Regions from separate parts of the Homo sapiens genome. Here region 1 is linked to region 2. The links are contacts of gene promoters, found by promoter capture Hi-C in human tissues and cell types (Jung and others, 2019). All regions are on one chromosome and are shown on one strand. Each heading gives the region's core, a stretch centred on a gene start or on the middle of the fragment in contact. The rest is flanking DNA. Distances are from core to core; before and after follow the strand shown.

Region 1 (4,261 bases), core at 214-2,713, 41 kb before region 2:
AGGTGCGGCAGCGGATCGGCTACTGCCCGCAGTTTGATGCCTTGCTGGACCACATGACAGGCCGGGAGATGCTGGTCATGTACGCTCGGCTCCGGGGCATCCCTGAGCGCCACATCGGGGCCTGCGTGGAGAACACTCTGCGGGGCCTGCTGCTGGAGCCACATGCCAACAAGCTGGTCAGGACGTACAGGTGCACCTCCCGAGCCCTGGCCCTTCCCAGAGTGGAGTCAGAATCAAGGTCCCCATAGCATAGAGCTGGGAGTGACCGCTCAGGTCAGCAGCCAGAGCTCCTGCTTGTGGCTCCAGGATGGAGCTGGGATGTGGTGGTGTGACCCAGGTAGCTCCACGTAGGAAAGGGACTGCCCTGACAGTGCCTGCCACCTAGGGACAAAGCCAGCAGTGAGAGATGTCAGGGTCGGCAGGTCCCCTTTAGGTGCAGGCAGATGTCTTCCCATGTAGGTGCGTGCACCGGGCCCCTGGGAACAGCCTTCTCTGGGGCCTCCAGCCCTATGCGGTGGGCTTTCCAGGTGCACACACAGCTCCTTCCTCTTCACTAGGGCTGTTCTGCAATTGCTGGGTGTGGGCCGCTGCTGGGACACGGGCCTCCACTGGGACATGGGAGCCAATGCTAACTCTCAGCCTTATTCCCCCACCTGGCACCCTCCTGCCTCTAGTGGTGGTAACAAGCGGAAGCTGAGCACCGGCATCGCCCTGATCGGAGAGCCTGCTGTCATCTTCCTGGACGAGCCGTCCACTGGCATGGACCCCGTGGCCCGGCGCCTGCTTTGGGACACCGTGGCACGAGCCCGAGAGTCTGGCAAGGCCATCATCATCACCTCCCACAGGTAGAGCCTGGGTCTGTGGGTTACTGGAAGTTTCAGCACCGGGTGGGCCATGGAGGAGCCAGGTGGCCAGGAGACCCATCAGCATCTGGTGCAGAGTCTGCCCGTGAGCCACACTGAGCATGGGTATCAGGAACAGCCTGATCGGAGAGCCAATGCCTTCCTGTCTGCACAAGCCTTTGGCACCCCAAGCCCTATCTGAGGTCCCGCCCTCTCCACAGCATGGAGGAGTGTGAGGCCCTGTGCACCCGGCTGGCCATCATGGTGCAGGGGCAGTTCAAGTGCCTGGGCAGCCCCCAGCACCTCAAGAGCAAGTTCGGCAGCGGCTACTCCCTGCGGGCCAAGGTGCAGAGTGAAGGGCAACAGGAGGCGCTGGAGGAGTTCAAGGCCTTCGTGGACCTGACCTTTCCAGGTGTGTGCCGGCCCCGGCAGCCCCCACTGGGTGGGCCCTGGGCCCCTACCTAGGCCTCTCCCATCTGCTGTGCGGAGCGTCTGTGCCTCGCCCCGCCAAGTCCCATCTCCCCAATCCCTGGGACGAGGACTCCAGTGCTGAGCACCCAGGCACCCTCCCCGATCCTCCAGCCCGGCGCTCACAGCAACACCGTCTCTCCTTTGTGCAGGCAGCGTCCTGGAAGATGAGCACCAAGGCATGGTCCATTACCACCTGCCGGGCCGTGACCTCAGCTGGGCGAAGGTGAGGCAGTCCCTGGGGCCCCACTGGGCACTCATGGGGCAGGGGGAGGTCCCTCCAGGGGTCTCTCCCTCTGTGGTGACTGCAGGCTCTTTCCACAGAGGAGTCACTTTCCATTTCTCCCCTAACACTCAGCCTGATACGTGCTGGTTTGGGGGTTTTATATCCAAAATTATCAGTGGTAAAAGGAATTCAGTGTAAAACAGGAAAGGGGTCAGGGATGGTGGCTCACACCATAATCCCAGCACTTTGGGAGGCCGAGGAGGGAGGATTGCTTAAGCCTGGGAGTTCTAGACCAGCCTGGGCAACATAGACCCCGTCTCTACAAAAAATTTAAAAATTAGCCAGGTATCATGCATACCTGTAGTCCCAGCCACTCGGGAGGCTAAGGTGGGAGGATCGCTTGAGCCTGGGAGTTCGAGACTGCAGTGAGCTATGATTGTGCCACTGCACTCCAGCCTGGGCTACAGAGCAAGACTCTCTCTAAAAAAATATGGGGGAAAAAAAGAACTGGCTCAGAAAGGGAACATCACTGGCTCAAGGTTGTAATCTGAGCTGGGAACAGCACAGGGAGGAGGCTGGGCCCCATCCCCGCTGGCTCCTGCTTAGCCAGCGTCCTCTACCTGGGAGCACGGTGCCGTCGCAGGGCTGACCTCTCTGGGGCTCTGGGGTGGCGCTGGGCAGGGGTAGGATTGTGGGGGCCTCATCAGCCCCTATTGCCAGAGGACTCCCAGGTCCCGCAGAGGAGCCTGGGCCCTGTTCTCTCCTACCAGTGACTTTTCTGCTCCCCAAAGGTTTTCGGTATTCTGGAGAAAGCCAAGGAAAAGTACGGCGTGGACGACTACTCCGTGAGCCAGATCTCGCTGGAACAGGTCTTCCTGAGCTTCGCCCACCTGCAGCCGCCCACCGCAGAGGAGGGGCGATGAGGGGTGGCGGCTGTCTCGCCATCAGGCAGGGACAGGACGGGCAAGCAGGGCCCATCTTACATCCTCTCTCTCCAAGTTTATCTCATCCTTTATTTTTAATCACTTTTTTCTATGATGGATATGAAAAATTCAAGGCAGTATGCACAGAATGGACGAGTGCAGCCCAGCCCTCATGCCCAGGATCAGCATGCGCATCTCCATGTCTGCATACTCTGGAGTTCACTTTCCCAGAGCTGGGGCAGGCCGGGCAGTCTGCGGGCAAGCTCCGGGGTCTCTGGGTGGAGAGCTGACCCAGGAAGGGCTGCAGCTGAGCTGGGGGTTGAATTTCTCCAGGCACTCCCTGGAGAGAGGACCCAGTGACTTGTCCAAGTTTACACACGACACTAATCTCCCCTGGGGAGGAAGCGGGAAGCCAGCCAGGTTGAACTGTAGCGAGGCCCCCAGGCCGCCAGGAATGGACCATGCAGATCACTGTCAGTGGAGGGAAGCTGCTGACTGTGATTAGGTGCTGGGGTCTTAGCGTCCAGCGCAGCCCGGGGGCATCCTGGAGGCTCTGCTCCTTAGGGCATGGTAGTCACCGCGAAGCCGGGCACCGTCCCACAGCATCTCCTAGAAGCAGCCGGCACAGGAGGGAAGGTGGCCAGGCTCGAAGCAGTCTCTGTTTCCAGCACTGCACCCTCAGGAAGTCGCCCGCCCCAGGACACGCAGGGACCACCCTAAGGGCTGGGTGGCTGTCTCAAGGACACATTGAATACGTTGTGACCATCCAGAAAATAAATGCTGAGGGGACACAGTCACAGTCTGTGGGTCACACGCGCGAGCGGTCACAGGGCTCAATCACTCGCCCACAATCTAGACATGAGGCTCTCCTTTCACATTTCAATCACACAAACGTGGGACGTTGCTTTTCCCAGAAGGGAGCACACGCAGAGAATACACTGAGGTGAAGGAACAGGCCCATAACACAAAGGAAAAAGCCGGCTAGATCAACGCCCGGTGACAGGCTCTTAGTCTAAAGACAAGAGCAGGTGGGGCTGTGTGGGAAGCACAGGTCTGGTGGGAGAGAAGCTGCTGGCATCAGGGTCACCCGTGGGCATTTGCCATTTCCCAGAAATAACTCCTCATCAGCTCCCTTTTTAGTTATTTATGGAGTCTTGCTTTGTTGCCCAGGCTGGAGTGCAGTGGCGCAATCTTGGCTCACTGCAACTTCTGCCTCCCGGGTTCAAGCCATTCTCCTGCCTCTGCCTCCCGAGTAGCTGGGACAACAGGCACGCGCCACCACACCCAGCTAATTTTTGTGTTTTTAGTAGAGACGGGGTTTCACCATCTTGGTCAGCCTGGTCTCGAACTCCTGACCTGAAGTGATCCACCCACCTCAGACTCCCAAAGTACTGGGATTACAGCCATAAGCCACCGTGCCTGGCCCCTTTTTATGCACTGTTTTGTGTTTTGTCTTTTGGAGACAGGATCTTGCTCTGCTGCCCAGCGTGGAGTGCAGTGGTGGTATCACAGCTCACTGCAGCCTCAAACACCTGGGCTCATGCAATCCTCCCACCCCAGCCTCCGGAGTGGCTGGGACTAAGGGCATGCGCCACCATGCATGGCTAAATTTTATTTTTAGTATAGACGAGGTCTCATGTTGGCCAGGCTGCTGCCAAACCCCTGACCTCAAGTGATCCACCTGCCTTGGCCTCCCAAAGTGCTGGGATCACAGGCGTGAGCCACCATGCCCGGCGAATGCACTATTATTTCTTATGGTTTTCTAAACCCGATTTGAACTTCTGCATTTTACATTCCCTTAG
Region 2 (4,370 bases), core at 592-3,091:
CCCACCCCTGCTGCTGCCTGCGGTGGGGCAGGGGCAGGGGCCGGGGCAGAGGGTGTCACCACTGGCCCTTTGAGGGAAAGGCAAGGTACCCTGCCTGCCCAGAGCTCCACATGGGGTGGGCCGGGCTCTCCAGGGTCCTTGGAAACGAGCCCTGGTGCAGGGAGGAAGCTGAGGTGGCCCTGCCTTGGGCGCTGGACCCTCCCTGCTGCCTGCGTGCGCCCGGGCGGTGGGGACCCAAGACCAGCACCGCCCCACGGCCCACTCGCCTGAGTCTGGTCCAGGCCGAATTCCTCCTGGAAGTCGTGCACGGTGGCCGACTGGGGCTTCAGGCTCCGGCGCAGGCGGGCGCCACAGGCCACAATGCGGTCGTAGGCGCAGTCTGAGTTGCCCACCGTGGTGTCGGCGCTGTCAGGGATGAGCCACTTGAAGACCTCACTGCTCCTCAGACGGATGGCGGCCCAGTCCTGCGCCCGCACATAGCTGCAGTCGGCGTTGAAGTCGCCCAGGAACAGCATGTCCTGCGGGCGCCGCGGAGCCGTGTCTGAGCCGCCGCAGGAGCCGTCGAGGTCCCGCCCTCATGAACCAGACCCCCGGGGCGCGCCTGCAGGGACCCCGGGACCGAGGGGTGGGCTTACGTCGGTGCCCCACTTGTCGATCACGTCCAGGTACACGTCGTAGAGCGCGTCGATCTCCGCCACGGCTTGATGCGGCGCCGCGTGCAGCGGGATCAGCACCAGGTTCTGTGCTGCTGCGGGAAGGGGTGGGGGCGTCAGAGCTCGGCGGGAGGGGAGGGGCGGGGCCCGCTCACCGGTGCCGGGGGCCGAGAACTTGACCACGAAGGGCTCGCGGCTGAAGACGTCCTCGGGGTCTGGGTACAGGTAGGTGTCCACGACCGACACCGCGTCTTTCCTAGGAGATGGGGAGGACCCGCTGAGCCCCCGACCTGCGGCCCCGCGCGCCCCTCCCTGCGGCCCGCCCCTCACCTGTACACGAACAGGTACATCTCCTTGTACTGGTCCCGGCCCAGGGGCTGGCTGCTCACAAAGCTGTACTCGTGCTCGGACACGCTGCGGAGACAGGGGCCCGCTCAGGGTCGGGGCGCCGCGCCGGGGCGAGATCCCGGCGGGGGGTCGCGACGAGGGGCCCTGCCCACCACACCTGTTGATCTGCTCCATGAGCGCGGACACGGCGCTGAGGTCTGGGTCTCGCACCTCCTGCACCAGCGCGAGGTCATAGCCAGCCAGGATCTGGGGAGGAGCGGCGGGTGCGGGGGTCAGCGCGGTCAGCACCCCTAAACGCCGCCCCGCCCCGGCCCGGGCCCCACCTTCGCGATGATGCTGCCGCAAGCGGGGTCCGACACTTTGCTGTCACCGAAGCTCTGAATGTTGAAGGCTCCGATGCGAAGCGCGGCGGTCCCGGCGGCTTCCAGCGCCCAGAGTGCGGCCAGCAGAGCCCGGGGCCCGCCCATGGCGCGGAGCGAGAGGCTGGGAGGGACAGACGCTGCCGCCTACGCAGACCCGCTGTCAGACCCACCGACCCACCCCTTCCCTCCGCGGCCGCCCCTTGACGGCCAGTGCGACGCGGAATCCGCCCCTGCGTTCTGCAGGCTCCCAGGGCACTGCTGGGCTCTCAGGGACCGCTGCCTTCTCACTGCGCGGGAAGCTGCAGCCGGAATGGAGGGTCCGGCCCATCCAGCCCCAGCTCAGGGCAGCCGAGAGACTCACCTTGGATGTGGGTGCAGAGGCCCGAGGCTCAGAGATCCTAGGGGGATGGGGATCCCGGGTCCAGGCTGCGGGCGTGTCCGACACAGGACTGCACTGACTCCCTCTGGCAGTAGCTCTGGCACCAAGGCAGGGGCCGGTATTTGAGGTCCTGGGCCAGGGAGGGGCCGGGCTGCACTGGGTCCCGCCCCCTCGACTCAGCTGGGTGCCTGATGAACTCCTGGCTTTCATTCCCATGGAGACCCCCAGGGTAAGGGGTGGGAGACCTGCCTGAGCCGGTTCTGGTGCCCCAGACCTGTCCCAAAACCGTCCCAGAAGCCCCTGCCAGCCCCCTAGGAGGGAGGTAGACGGTCAGCCACATCCCGGTGCGGCTGTGTTCTTGTCCTCGCCCCTAGAAATTAGGTCGCCTAGACTCTGCCTCCCTGAGCAGAATCCCTTCAGGGAAAGCAAGGCAGCGCAGGTAGGACCAGCCACACTCCCTACCCAGCATCTCCTGCTGCTGCTCCACCTGCTCACCCTGCGGTGGAGGCCGAGGCTCCCAGATCTCCCTGTCCCCGTCCCTGGTCCTCCCACCCACCCACAGGCCTCAGGCAGCGCAGCTGGGGGCACAGCTCCAGCTGGGCAGGGCAGGAGGCTGTTGGTCAACATGCCAATGACACCCACACAGCACCAAGGCGCCGCCAGGGCTGGCAGAAGCCCCTGGGTGGGGCGGCCAGGCACGTGAGTCTAGGAGTGGCCTGGGAGGCAGGTGCTGCTGCGGGGGCCTGGGCAAAGGTGGTGGCACCAGCCGCGGAGGCTGCCACTGCCACAACATCACAAGCTGCAGGTTCTCATGTTTTATTGTAAAGCAACAAGAAACTCTTATGTACACTGTCCGTCTTGGGGCGCCTCCATCCTGTGCCATCTTCTCTACCAGGCCAGGCAGGCATGGGTGGGGCGCTCAGAGTCCTCTGCCCTGTCCCTGCCCGGCCAGGACCCCGCAGACCTCATGCTAGACGATGACCGTCTGCACCTCCAGCTGGCCCTCCGGCGAGGCGATGACCAGCTCGCCTGCATGCTCCAGGATCTCGATGTCCTCTGATGACACCATGGTCACAGTGGCCTGTTCAGTGCCACTTGTCCCTGCCCGGGCGGCAAGCACAGTGCCCTCGCTGATGGCCGAGGCCAGCGTCATGGCCACCTGCTCTGTCAGGCTCTCGGGGGTGGCGATGGTGATGGTGTCGGCGGCAGCCGCCTCTGGGCCCAGCGCCGTCTCCTCGTCCATGGTGACGTTCTGCACGATGATCTGGTGGCCGGCGCTAGCCTGGTGCACGATCTGCTGCACCACCTTCATGATGTGGCTGTCCACCTGCAGGGCCACGGCTCAGCAAGAGCGGCTGTGCCAGGGAGCCTCCCCGCCCCCGCCTGCCCTACCCCTCACCTCTGTCTGGGTGCCCTCGATGATCTCCGTGGCCTCACTGGTCTCCGCATCGTCCGCAGTGGCCTGGGCAGATGGGCAGAAGGACAGAGGTCAGCCTTGGCTGCCCCTGGGTCCCAGCACGGCCCCAGGGCCCCACACCCACCTCGATGATATACTCCTGGGTGTCAGCTACCACGGACGAGAACTCCACCAACACTGTGTGCGGGTCTTCCGTGAGGACGGTGGTGGCTGCCGCGGGGCTGTCCTCAGACACCAGCAACTCCTCCACCTCCAGCAGGCAGCCCCCTGTGGGTGGGGACTCGGTCAGGGCTAGGCAAGCCCCGGCCCCCTCCCCTCCCCCTCCCACCTCCACCGGCCCAGACCTTTGGTGCGCAGGTGCCGGTTCAGCGTGCCGTGCTCGGCGAAGCCACGGCCGCACTTGTAGCACTTGAACGGCTTCTCGCCTGTGTGGTGTCGCACGTGCCGCACCAGTGAGCCCTTCTCTCGGAAGCCACGGCTGCAGAACTGGCACACGTGCGGCTTCTCCTCCAGGTGTGTCCTGAAGTGCACCTGCTGTGCGTTCTGTGGAGACACCTGTCAGTGCCAGCCTGGCCTTGGCCACAACAGACTACAGCTCTCCCCTCCCGCCTGTGGCCCAAGGGAGGGGCTGGGTCAAGACTGAGCATGGTGGAGGCAGGGAAGGGGGTGCACCTGGGCCACGGCCAGGGAGCAGGATGGGGGGATCAGGCGCCAGGGTCCTGCGGCCAGAGACCCACCTTAGTCTTGTAGCGCTTGCCACACTTGGGACAAGGGTAGGGCCGCTCGTCTGAGTGGACGCGCCGGTGGCCACGCACATGGGCAATGGTCTTGTAGAGCTTCCCGCAGTCGCCACAGCGGAAGCGGCGCTCACGCACGTGCACCTCCTGGTGCTTCTTGAGCAGGTAGGCCTTGGGGAAGGCCTTGCCACACTGCGCGCAGGCGAACGGCCTCGGCCCTGCAGCCACACACAGCATCAGGCCAAGCCCATCACCCGCGGGCCCGCCAGGCCGCCTGCCACCTGCCCACAGATCCCCTGGCTCCCTGCTGTCTATGGACCCACCCTGGACACCCAGAAGCACCCCGGCCACCTATAGCCCATCCACTGCCATGGGCCACACACCCACCCATCACCTACCGGTGTGGCCCCTCTTGTGGGCCTCCAGGGTGGCTGCTGTCGGGAAGGTCTCACTGCACTGAGGACATGGGTGGGT

The links. Contacts are between HindIII fragments. The study calls those that stand out against the background at their distance.
Region 1: a fragment that was not itself captured here is called in contact with the fragment with the promoter of DNASE1L2 in region 2 in 1 of the 25 tissues and cell types used here (spleen).

Annotation. Positions count from the first base shown.
Region 1 is chr16:2,274,872-2,279,132 of GRCh38, reverse strand. It overlaps ABCA3 (ATP binding cassette subfamily A member 3), which reads left to right. Exons shown (of 33, transcript NM_001089.3): 29 at 3-190; 30 at 675-845; 31 at 1,064-1,254; 32 at 1,463-1,536; 33 at 2,328-3,252. The coding sequence ends at 2,459. Among named protein-coding and RNA genes, the nearest start is that of MIR4717, 2.4 kb to the right of the region's middle. The HindIII fragment of the contact is 5,249 bases long and covers 1-4,087 here.
Region 2 is chr16:2,233,915-2,238,284 of GRCh38, reverse strand. It overlaps DNASE1L2 (deoxyribonuclease 1 like 2), which reads right to left and starts at 1,841. Exons shown (of 7, transcript NM_001374.3): 1 at 1,725-1,841; 2 at 1,325-1,507; 3 at 1,159-1,247; 4 at 984-1,067; 5 at 636-909; 6 at 267-518. The coding sequence starts at 1,468. It overlaps E4F1 (E4F transcription factor 1), which reads right to left. Exons shown (of 14, transcript NM_004424.5): 9 at 4,295-4,370; 10 at 3,897-4,114; 11 at 3,504-3,702; 12 at 3,284-3,426; 13 at 3,142-3,204; 14 at 2,543-3,069. The coding sequence ends at 2,713. The HindIII fragment of the contact is 25,906 bases long and covers 1-4,370 here.